3 separate regions of the Homo sapiens genome follow, and regions 1 and 3 are each linked to region 2. Evidence: promoter capture Hi-C in 16 types of primary human blood cells and fetal thymus (Javierre and others, 2016). All regions are on one chromosome and are shown on one strand. The core of a region is centred on a gene start or on the middle of the fragment in contact, and the rest is flanking DNA. Distances in the headings are between cores, read along the strand shown.

Region 1 (3,122 bases), core at 488-2,987, 170 kb before region 2:
TCATTCATGTTTTCTGCAATAAGCATGTATTGATTTAATAAATTAGCTACTAAAAAGAAAAAACTATATCTATATGTTCTATACAGAAAGATTTCCAAAATATATATGATGGAAAAAAGCCAAGATACAAAGCACTCTGTATAATGTTTAATTTTTATGTAAAAAATGTATATGCTTGTAAATACATCAAAATTATAACTAAGCCCTGACACCTGATAGGACTTACAAGAAAGGAAAATCACAGACCAATCTTTCTCATGAGCACAGATATAAAAATCAAAACAGATGCAAACTGAATCCAGCACCATATAAAAAGGACAATACATCATGACCAAGTAGAGTTTATACCAAGAATGCAAGACTAGTTTAACATTAGAGCATTTAGTTGATGTAACAAACTACATTAACAAAATTAAAGAGAAAAATCAAGATAATCTCAATAAATACAGGAAAAGTGAGAAAATTCAACACCCATTCATGATACTCTGGGCAAACTATATATGAATAAAAGGGATCTTCAACCTGATAAAAACATCTATGAAAAAAACCTAGAGCTAACATACTTTAATAGTGAAAAACTAGATGCTGTCCCCTGATGTTGGGAACAAGACAAGGATAACAACTCACACCACTTCTATTCAATGTTAGGTTAAAGGTCCTAGCCAATACAACAAGGCAAGAAGAAATAAAAGGCAAAGATTGAGAGAAAGAAGTAGAACTGTCTTTATTCACACATGACATGGTTATGTGCATAGGGAATCCTGTAACAAGGCATTTACAACAAAATAAAAAAACAACTAATCAAACTCAATTTAACAAGATTACAGGATACAAATCAATATACAAAAATAAAATGCATTTCTATATACCAGCAATAAACTTAAAAATGAAATAAAAATACTATTTACAATAGCATAACCACAGAATATTTAGGAATACATTTAACAAAAGATGTACAAGACTTTGTCACCAAAACAACAAAACATTGCTGAGATATATTTTAAAAGACCCAAATAAGTGGAAAAATATACCATGTCCATGGATTGGAAGGTTCAATATTTTTTGTCAATTCTTCCCAAATTGACCTATAAATTCAATGCAATCCCAATCACAATCCCAGTAGACTTTTTTTTTAAAGAAAAATTGACAAGCTTAATATAAACTTTATAAAGAAAGGACCTGATAGTCAAAACAATCTTGGAAAAGATTGTAGAACTTAACAATACTGAATTTCAATATACTATAAAGCCACAATAATCAAGACAGTGGGGACTTGTGTAAGAATAGATACATAGATCAATGACATAAATAGATTATCCAGATCCACAGATATATGGTCAATTGATTTTGACAAAGGCACCAAGGCAATTCTATGGGTAGGTAAAGATTTCTTGCAACACACAAAAAGCACTGACCATAAAAGAAAAAAATGGATAAACTGGGCTCCATTACAATTACAAACTTGTTCTTTGAAAGACACCATTAAGAAAATGAAAAGGCAAGCCAAAGACTAGGAAGAAAATAGTCTCAATACATATATTTGAAAAAGAATTTGTATCTGAAATATATAAGCAATTCCTACAACTCAATAATAAAACCACTCAATTTTTTTTTTTTTTTTTTGAGACGGAGTCTTGCACTGTCGCCCAGGCTGGAGTGCAGTGGCGTGATCTCGGCTCACTGCAAGCTCCACTTCCTGGGTTCACGCCATTCTCCTGCCTCAGCCTCCCGAGTAGCTGGGACTACAGGCGCCTGCCACCATGCCCGGCTAATTTTTTTATTTTTAGTAGACACAGGGTTTCACCGTGTTAGCCAGGATGGTCTCCATCTCCTGACCTCTTGATCTGCTCGCCTCGGCCTCCCAAAGTTCTGGGATTACAGGCGTGAGCCACTGTGCCCGACCACCACTCAGTGTTTTTAAATGGGTAAAAATATTTGTACAGATACTTAACAAACGAAAATATGTGGGCCGGGCCAGGCGCGGTGGCTCACGCCTGTAATCCCAGCACTTTGGGAGGCCGAGGTGGGCAGATCACGAGGTCAAGAGATCGAGACCATCCTGGCTAACACGGTGAAACCCTGTCTCTACTAAAAATATAAAAATTAGCCATGCGTGGTGACAGGCACCTGTAGTCCCAGCTACTTGGGAGGCTGATGCAGGAGAATTGCTCCAACCCGGGAGGTGGAGGCTGCAGTGAGCCAAGATCATACCACTGCACTCCAGCCTGGGCGACAGAGCGAGACTCCATCTCAAAAAAAAAAAAAAACCAAAAAACCAAAGAAAATATGTGAATGGCCAATATGCACATGAAAAGAAGCTTTAGTCATCAGAAAAATGGAAATTAAAACGACAATGAAATACCAATACACACCCAGTAGAATGGCTAAAATTAAGAACACTGACAAAACAAAGTTCCGGCAAGAATACTGTGCAACTGGACTTCTTATAAATTGCTGGTAGGAGTGTAAGCTGGTACAACCGCTTTGGACAGTGATGTGGCAACCTCACATAAAGTTAAATATCTAATTAGCATACAACTAGTAATTCCACTTCTAGGCATCTGCACAAGAGAAGTGAAAGCACATGTTCACAAAGAGACTTGTACATGAATGCTTAAAGTAGCTTTATTCATAATAGTCCTCAAATGGAAACAATTCAGATGTTCATCAACAGGTGAACAGATAAGCAAATAGTAACTTATTCATGCAACCGAATACTACCAAGTAATAAAAAGGCACAAGCTATGAATGCATGCAACAACATGGATGAATCTCCAAAACACTGTGTTGGGAGAAAAAAGCCAGATACAGAAGATTATAAACTATATGATTTCACTTATATGAAGTAAAAGAATAGCCAAAAATAATCCATAGATCAGAACAGTGATTACGTCTAGTGGGATTGACTGGAAAAGGAGGCAGGAGGGAACTTTCTGGGGTGATGAAAATATTACCTATTTTGATTGGGGTGGTGGTTATTTGGGGACATACATTTATCAAAACTTATCAAACTGGACCCTTAAAATTAGTGAATTTTGTTCAAGACCAGCCTGGCTAACACGGTGAAACCTGTCTCTACTAAAAATACAAAATTAGCCAGGCATGGTGGTAGGTGTCTGTAA
Region 2 (2,955 bases), core at 115-2,614:
AGGTGCATGGGGGGCTGAGTGGCCACCAAGCCTTCCACCACGGCCTCCAGCTGCCGGCGCAAGCAGGAGTGCAGGGTGTTGGCAGCCAAGATGGCTGCTGCAGGACCGCCGTGCCCATCGAACAGTGCCCAGTAATGGCCTGTCAGGAACTGCACAGGAAGGGCTCAGTGTCAGCCTCTGCCTGACTTCCCCACTTGTCCCCTGACGCAACCTAACTAGGACCTGGGGCAGCAGGGTAAGAACCTCAGCCTGCAGGTCGTGGCCCCAGCCTGTCGGAGGGATTCCAGCCAAGAACTCAGACTGCACTCACCTCCTCTGGGCACAGGGTCAGCCACTCTTCTTCAGCCCCAAACTCACATCTCCGGATGCACAGCTTCCCACAGGCGGCTTGATCCTCATTGAATTCAGATTTCTCTGCATTGATAATCCTGAGGCCGGGAAATGGTAAGCGACCCTCCAGGGACACACCTATGTCCCCATGGGCACAGGGACCCAAGCCAGCACAGGGAGAAGACCCCTCCCTCTGGGGCAACAGCTCCCCAGTGCTGTCCCTAACACACACTTAGACAACCACGATGTAAGCTTCCTAACTTCACTGGCCTCATGGCTAAGGTAAAAGTCAGGGCCCAGCTCCTCTGGAGCCTACCTGGTGACCCAGGGCTAGACGGTAAGGGTAGGTTGCCATTCCTGCCCCTGTCCTGTCGCAGCCCAAAGCCCTGTCCCATACAGCGCAGGTCATACCCAGGGTGAGATGGTGGGGGTAGAGGGCGAGGGGAAATCTCCAAAGCCCCGAATGCTGGAACTCTACCGAGTCTCTGGGCCTCATCTTGGAAGCCCCTGGGCTGCAGGTCCTTCCCGACCTCCTGTCTTCTCTGAGGGGGAGGTCGGAATCCCAAGGAAAACGCTGGGTCGGGATGACCGGGAAGTTGTCAGGATTCGGAGGTGAGGGCAAGAAGGGGCTGTCCACAGGTGGGTGGGGACTGTCACTCAGCTCCTCCCGCTTTCTAGGCGGGCGCAGGACCCGAAGCGGGTTCAGGCCCGGGCCTGAGCTGGGGGTCGGGGAGGGGCACTCACTCGGCGTAGCCTGCATTCCAGGGTAGCGTGCGTCCTCGTGCGGGGCTGCGCACGGGCCGGGAGTCTGGGCGGCGCGAGGCGTCGGCCGCCCCGGGGCTGGAGCTGGAGCCGCGAAGGAAGCGGGGCCGTCGGTAGGGCACGGGGCTGGCATGCGGCCCAGGCGGCCGCGGCGCGGGGAGCGGCTCCCCAGGCAGGAAGCGGCGCCGGAACCAGCCGGCGGACATGGCGCGGCGGCAGGGGGCTGCCCGCGGAGCGCGGGGCGCTAGGGCTGGGCCGCCCGCGGGAGGAAGAAGCGGGCCGCGGGCGGAGCCGAGGGAGGGGTGCGCCGGCGGGAGGCGGGGCCGGGGGCGCGCAGACGGGAGGCGTCGCCCCCCAGCCCCGACCTCCGCCCGGGAGTGCGTGCGCGGCTGGTTCGCTGACTCCAGGGGTCAACGCTCGCGACCGCCTGAAGAAGCCCACGCCGGCATCAGCCCCATTTGACAAGCAGGAAAACCGAGGCCTAGAGAGGCGAAGTCGCCTGCCCAGCGTCCCACAGTAGCCAGGGAGGACTGTTCACCCACGCTTGCGGGGCACTGGTGGTTGAGAGGAAAAGTCCCCCACACTCCGCGGGGCCAGCGTCGCGCAGATCCTCGGACCTCCTCCTGCTGGGTGGGGACCTGACGCAAGGGGAAGATGGGGACAAAATGAGCTGGGAGGTGTCAGACCCCCACATTGAGTAAATGCCACCGAGCACAGGTTCCTTCAGGCGGCCTCCAATCCTCTCCACCCCGGCCTGCCACCCTCCACCCCAGACGGGCTTAGTGGGCACCTTGGCTTTCCCCGTCCTGAGAGGCTGCTGCCACCCTCGAGGACAGTCTTCCAAATGGCTGTCCCTGCATTCAAGATGTCTTCGCGGAATAGACAGCAGGATCCTTACTGGACTGTGAGTGAGTGACGGACAAGAGAAATCTGTGTGAGTGTAAAGGGGAATCCGTGGTCCCCCAAAGGCTCCAGCTGGTCCGAGTTCAGACCTGGGACGGAGGGAAGTGAAAGACGAGGAACCATCTTGCGGTCTCTCAACCACTGGCTAGCTGTCACCAGGCGGTCAGCCGCAGTGTCCCCTTCACATCTGCGAGTTAACAAAGCACTTTGTCACCCATTTGTCACTCAAGTCCAACTCCCTGTGCAAAAGTGTTACTTTGGCCGGAGGCAGTGGCTCACGCCTGTAATCCCAGTGCTTTGGGAGGCCGAGGCGGGCGGATCACTTGAGGTCAGGAGTTCGAGACCAGCCTGGCCAACATGGTGAAACCCCGTCTGTACTAAAAATTAGCCAAGCGTGGTGGTGTGCGCCTGTAATCCCAGTTACTCAGAAGGCTGGGGCACAAGAATCGGTTGAACCCAGGAGGCAGAAGTTGCAGTGAGCCGAGATGGAGCCACTGCACTCCAGCCAGGGCAACAGAGCGAGACTCAGTCTCAAAAAAAAGAGTGTTACATCATATGGACGATTCTGAGGCCCATGGAGGGGAAGTCTTGGACACCCAGGGCTGTACTATTTCCATTATGACAATGCAGCTGACTCAATCCTCGCCCCCAGGGCACTTCTCTTCCCCTTTCCTCCTCCAGGAAGCCAGGGCTTGCCAATTAAAAGCGGCTAAGGCTCCACAGCCCAGTGCCTGCATATGAGCTGTATGAGGAGTCCACCTTCACCTCCACTCCCTAGCCCAGGTAGACGCTCAGTAAGCCCTACTTCCTCCCAGCAGCTAGTCCTGCCCCAGTGGGAGTTCCTCGGGCCCAAGAAGGAAGGTTCTTAGGGCAGGGACCTGTGCCCAACACCCACTCCCTCCGATGACTCAGTCCCAGACCAGCCTGGGGGCTGATTGACTGAACCCACAGTGTCTGCTG
Region 3 (3,122 bases), core at 333-2,832, 200 kb after region 2:
CTGGCAGGCAGAGGCATCAGGGCTTTCTCTGTGGGCTTCTGCTGAAATCAAGGCTTGGAGAGGTTGTATATACCAAGTTGACACAACTGAGTCCTGACTCGCCCTTCATTGTCTGAGGCTGTCTGCTTAGGCATTGCCCAGATTGCAGCCCCCAGGACCCTAACTCTTTCTCTTGCTGCCGTGTGGGTGAGAGGGGAATGTGCATTTAACCCTGCCCCTGCAGGTCCTGAGATATCAGTGGGTAGTGACAGGTCAGCCCTTCTTTGCTTCTTAAGGGCTGGGTGGCCTTGGACAGGTCCCTTAGGCCGATTGCACCTGGTTCCTGAGTGCTTTTCAGCTTTGTGGCATGAAGAGCACATTATTGGCCTGGGCTCACAGGGAGGAATCAGCCGTGCTCAGGCGTGTACAAGGAAGGGTGGGCATGGGCCTCTGTCAAGGCTCCCCTGGGGGTGGGGGTCTAAGCGAGGCCCTGGGCTAGAGCAGGGAGGAGGTCTGGAGAAGGATGGGGGCCACAGTCTGGGGAAGTGAGGCCCCAGTGGACAACAAGCCCCGAGTTACAGATCAGGAAATGGAGGCTCCAGAGTGGCTTAGGTCTCCCTTGCCTCTGGCTGGATCAGGTGAGCCCCAGTCAAGGACTTAAGAGGCCTGGAAGCTGACTCAGTTTCCCCATTTCTGACATTCCCCAGCTCTATCCCTTCAGCAAACTGTGTGATCAGCACTGAGCTGGATCCAGGTGGAAGGTAGGTAGGTAGGGCCGAGAGGGTGAGGGCGGCTCAGCCTGGGACTTGCTCTGTTGGGGTGCCCAAGGCTCTCCTTCTCTTCTCTCCCTCATCTCTGCTCTTCAGTTAGTCTGCACCAGAACGCAGTCACAACCATCATGCGCAGCCTGTGGAGAGGGGTAGAGGGCAGGTTCTGCCCACTGTGGGGCCTGGGTGCAAATCTCAGCTGTGTGACTGCAGTCCCTCAGTTCTACCCCCTAACACTCCCATGTGGAGCGTGGAAGAATCCTGCCGCTCAGCCGGCAGGCCTCTGTGGGTAGGAGGGGGCTTCTTGCTGCATCCTCGACAAGGGGGCGGTGCTGCTGTTGCTCCTGGGCTCCCTCAGGGCCCTGTTCCTTCTGTGCCAGGGGCAGGCAAAGGGGGTGGGGGCCTGAGCAGGCAGAGACTGGGCCTTTGTTCCCTCCTGCTGCCCTCGCCCAGGCCTGGGGAAGCCCGCGGGTGCTGGGCTGGGGGCTGGGCCCTCGACAAACCGAGTAAGTGCCTGGCAGTGCCAGCGTGCCCAAGCACAGGACGGGGTGGGGGTGGGAGTGGCAGCCGCCTCCTGAGCCGGCTCTTCAGACGGAGGACTGGGACTGCCTGAAGAGGGCCAGCCCCGCCACTTACCCCTGTGCACTCTGGGGCCAGTGGTCTCTCTGACCGTCTGTGTCCTCCTTACCTGTAGAAATTCCTACCTCAGCACTGGGCCTGGCTAAGGTTCCCTGCTGGGGGACAGAGGGCCAGGTCATGGCTGAGAGGCTGGGGCCCTGGGTCCTTGCTCTGTGACCTTGGGCCGGGCCACGCTTACTGGACTGTGGTCCCCCACCCCTGGGTTTTGGGCTCCCATCTCATGGCCCCGTGTCCTGAGCTCCTCCTATCCCACCCCGTTTCTGCCATGCTCTCCCCAGCGGGCCCTGCTTGCTTCAGGCCATCTGTGGCTGAGGCCCTCAGCGCAGCCGTCCTGAGCTCTTGGACACTTGGCTCTCTGGGGGTGCACCTGCTTTATCTCTGTCCCCAGTCCTGTTGCTCTCTTGAGCCTGTTTGCCTCCTTGGTCCCTGTTTCTGCCTCCGTTTCAGCCTGGACCCCGGGGAGCTGGTCCACTCCTTAGCCGCTTAGTGTTCCCATGGGAGGAGGATCCAAGACACTTACTCACTTGCACATTCATCCAGCAGCCATTTCCTGTGCCGGCTGGGCAGTCCCAGGGAGGGAACATGCCCGAGGGAAGCTCGGTGATGTCACACTGGGTGGCAGGATAATGGGGCCCTCAACTTGTCCTCTGATAAATGAATCAAGTGCAACATGAGGACTGACTAAGGCTGGATACGAGGAAGCACTTGGAGTGCTGTGGAGCGATGACCTTGAAGGGGTTCCGACAAGACCGCAGGAGAGATGAACATTTCCCTAGGGTGGTCCCGCTCTGAGCCTGGGGGCAGAGGGAGCCCTCAGGAGAGGGCCCTGCTCTGCCTGCCACCCCCACAGGGCCCCTCCCCAGAGGAAAGTCATTCCTCATGAATGGACCAGGGTGGGGGTAGGTGGCAAGCCTGCACTGGAGCCTGCCCCTCCCTGCTACTGCCCATGTGCTGTGCACCTGGGCCAACAGCATGACTGCACTGTACCTCCCTCTGTGTCAGAATGGATGTGTCTGGGACACCAACACCTACCCCCAGATCCTTGGCAGAAGCCAGAGGGCCTGATATGGGAGCCAGCTTTCTCTGTAGGGAGCACAGTAGCATGTTAACCTCTGGGTGCCCCGATGGAGGGTGTTCAGGTCCTGATCCTTGACATCTTTTCCCCTGCTTTCTTTGGGCCCCACCAGGACACAGTGCTCTCACCTGACTCCTGAGACCCAGCCTACCTGAGAGCCCTGGGAAGGCTCGGGAATCACTCTGCTTCCCAGCCCTGTGCTGATGGGGAAGGTGAGGTTTGCAGAGGGGTGTCATAGAGTGAGGCAAGGTAGAAGCTGGGCCCCCCACCCTGCTGCCCTGAGGCTTTTCACTAGGCCCTGGCTCTGTGAGGGACCAGACACACACACACACACACACACACACACACACACACACACACACACACACACACACACACACACACACACAGCTTTGCCATCCTCTGACTAGACAAGCCCATGCAGGTCTCATAGCAATGGAGGAGCCGCCTGCCTGTGACTGTAGCCTCCTCTCATCAGGGTGTGTCCTGGGTGAAGTCATCCCTTTCCAGGCATGGTCATTAAAGACTATCATTAGCAACTCTTAGAGGCCTTGGCCCCATTGTCTCTGGCTGGGTCAGATGAGCCCCCACAGGTGACCGTGACACAGACTCCGGCCCCTTGCTAGAACCTCTCTTTGCCCAGGCAGCCAGCCCCCTTCCCA

Evidence for each region. Contacts are between HindIII fragments. The CHiCAGO score rates a contact against its expected background, and 5 or more counts as called.
Region 1: a fragment that was not itself captured here is called in contact with the fragment with the promoter of PPM1M in region 2 in 4 of 17 cell types (M2 macrophages, naive B cells, M0 macrophages and 1 more); the score reaches 5.2 in M2 macrophages.
Region 3: a contact is called between a fragment that was not itself captured here and the fragment with the promoter of PPM1M in region 2, in 2 of 17 cell types (non-activated CD4 T cells and endothelial precursors). The highest score is 6.2, in non-activated CD4 T cells.

Annotation. Positions count from the first base shown.
Region 1 is chr3:52,415,334-52,418,455 of GRCh38, reverse strand. The region is part of intron 4 of PHF7 (PHD finger protein 7); the gene reads right to left. Among named protein-coding and RNA genes, the nearest start is that of PHF7, 6.2 kb to the right of the region's middle. The HindIII fragment of the contact is 1,167 bases long and covers 1,154-2,320 here.
Region 2 is chr3:52,244,168-52,247,122 of GRCh38, reverse strand. It overlaps PPM1M (protein phosphatase, Mg2+/Mn2+ dependent 1M), which reads right to left and starts at 1,364. Exons shown (of 10, transcript NM_144641.4): 1 at 1,075-1,364; 2 at 311-428; 3 at 1-149. The coding sequence starts at 1,298. RefSeq lists silencers at 1,021-1,080, 1,121-1,490. The HindIII fragment of the contact is 3,516 bases long and covers 585-2,955 here.
Region 3 is chr3:52,045,583-52,048,704 of GRCh38, reverse strand. LOC124906238 (a long non-coding RNA gene) reads right to left here and starts at 2,476. Exons shown (of 2, transcript XR_007095908.1): 1 at 1,383-2,476; 2 at 1-886. RefSeq lists an enhancer at 1,186-2,385. The HindIII fragment of the contact is 4,073 bases long and covers 1-3,122 here.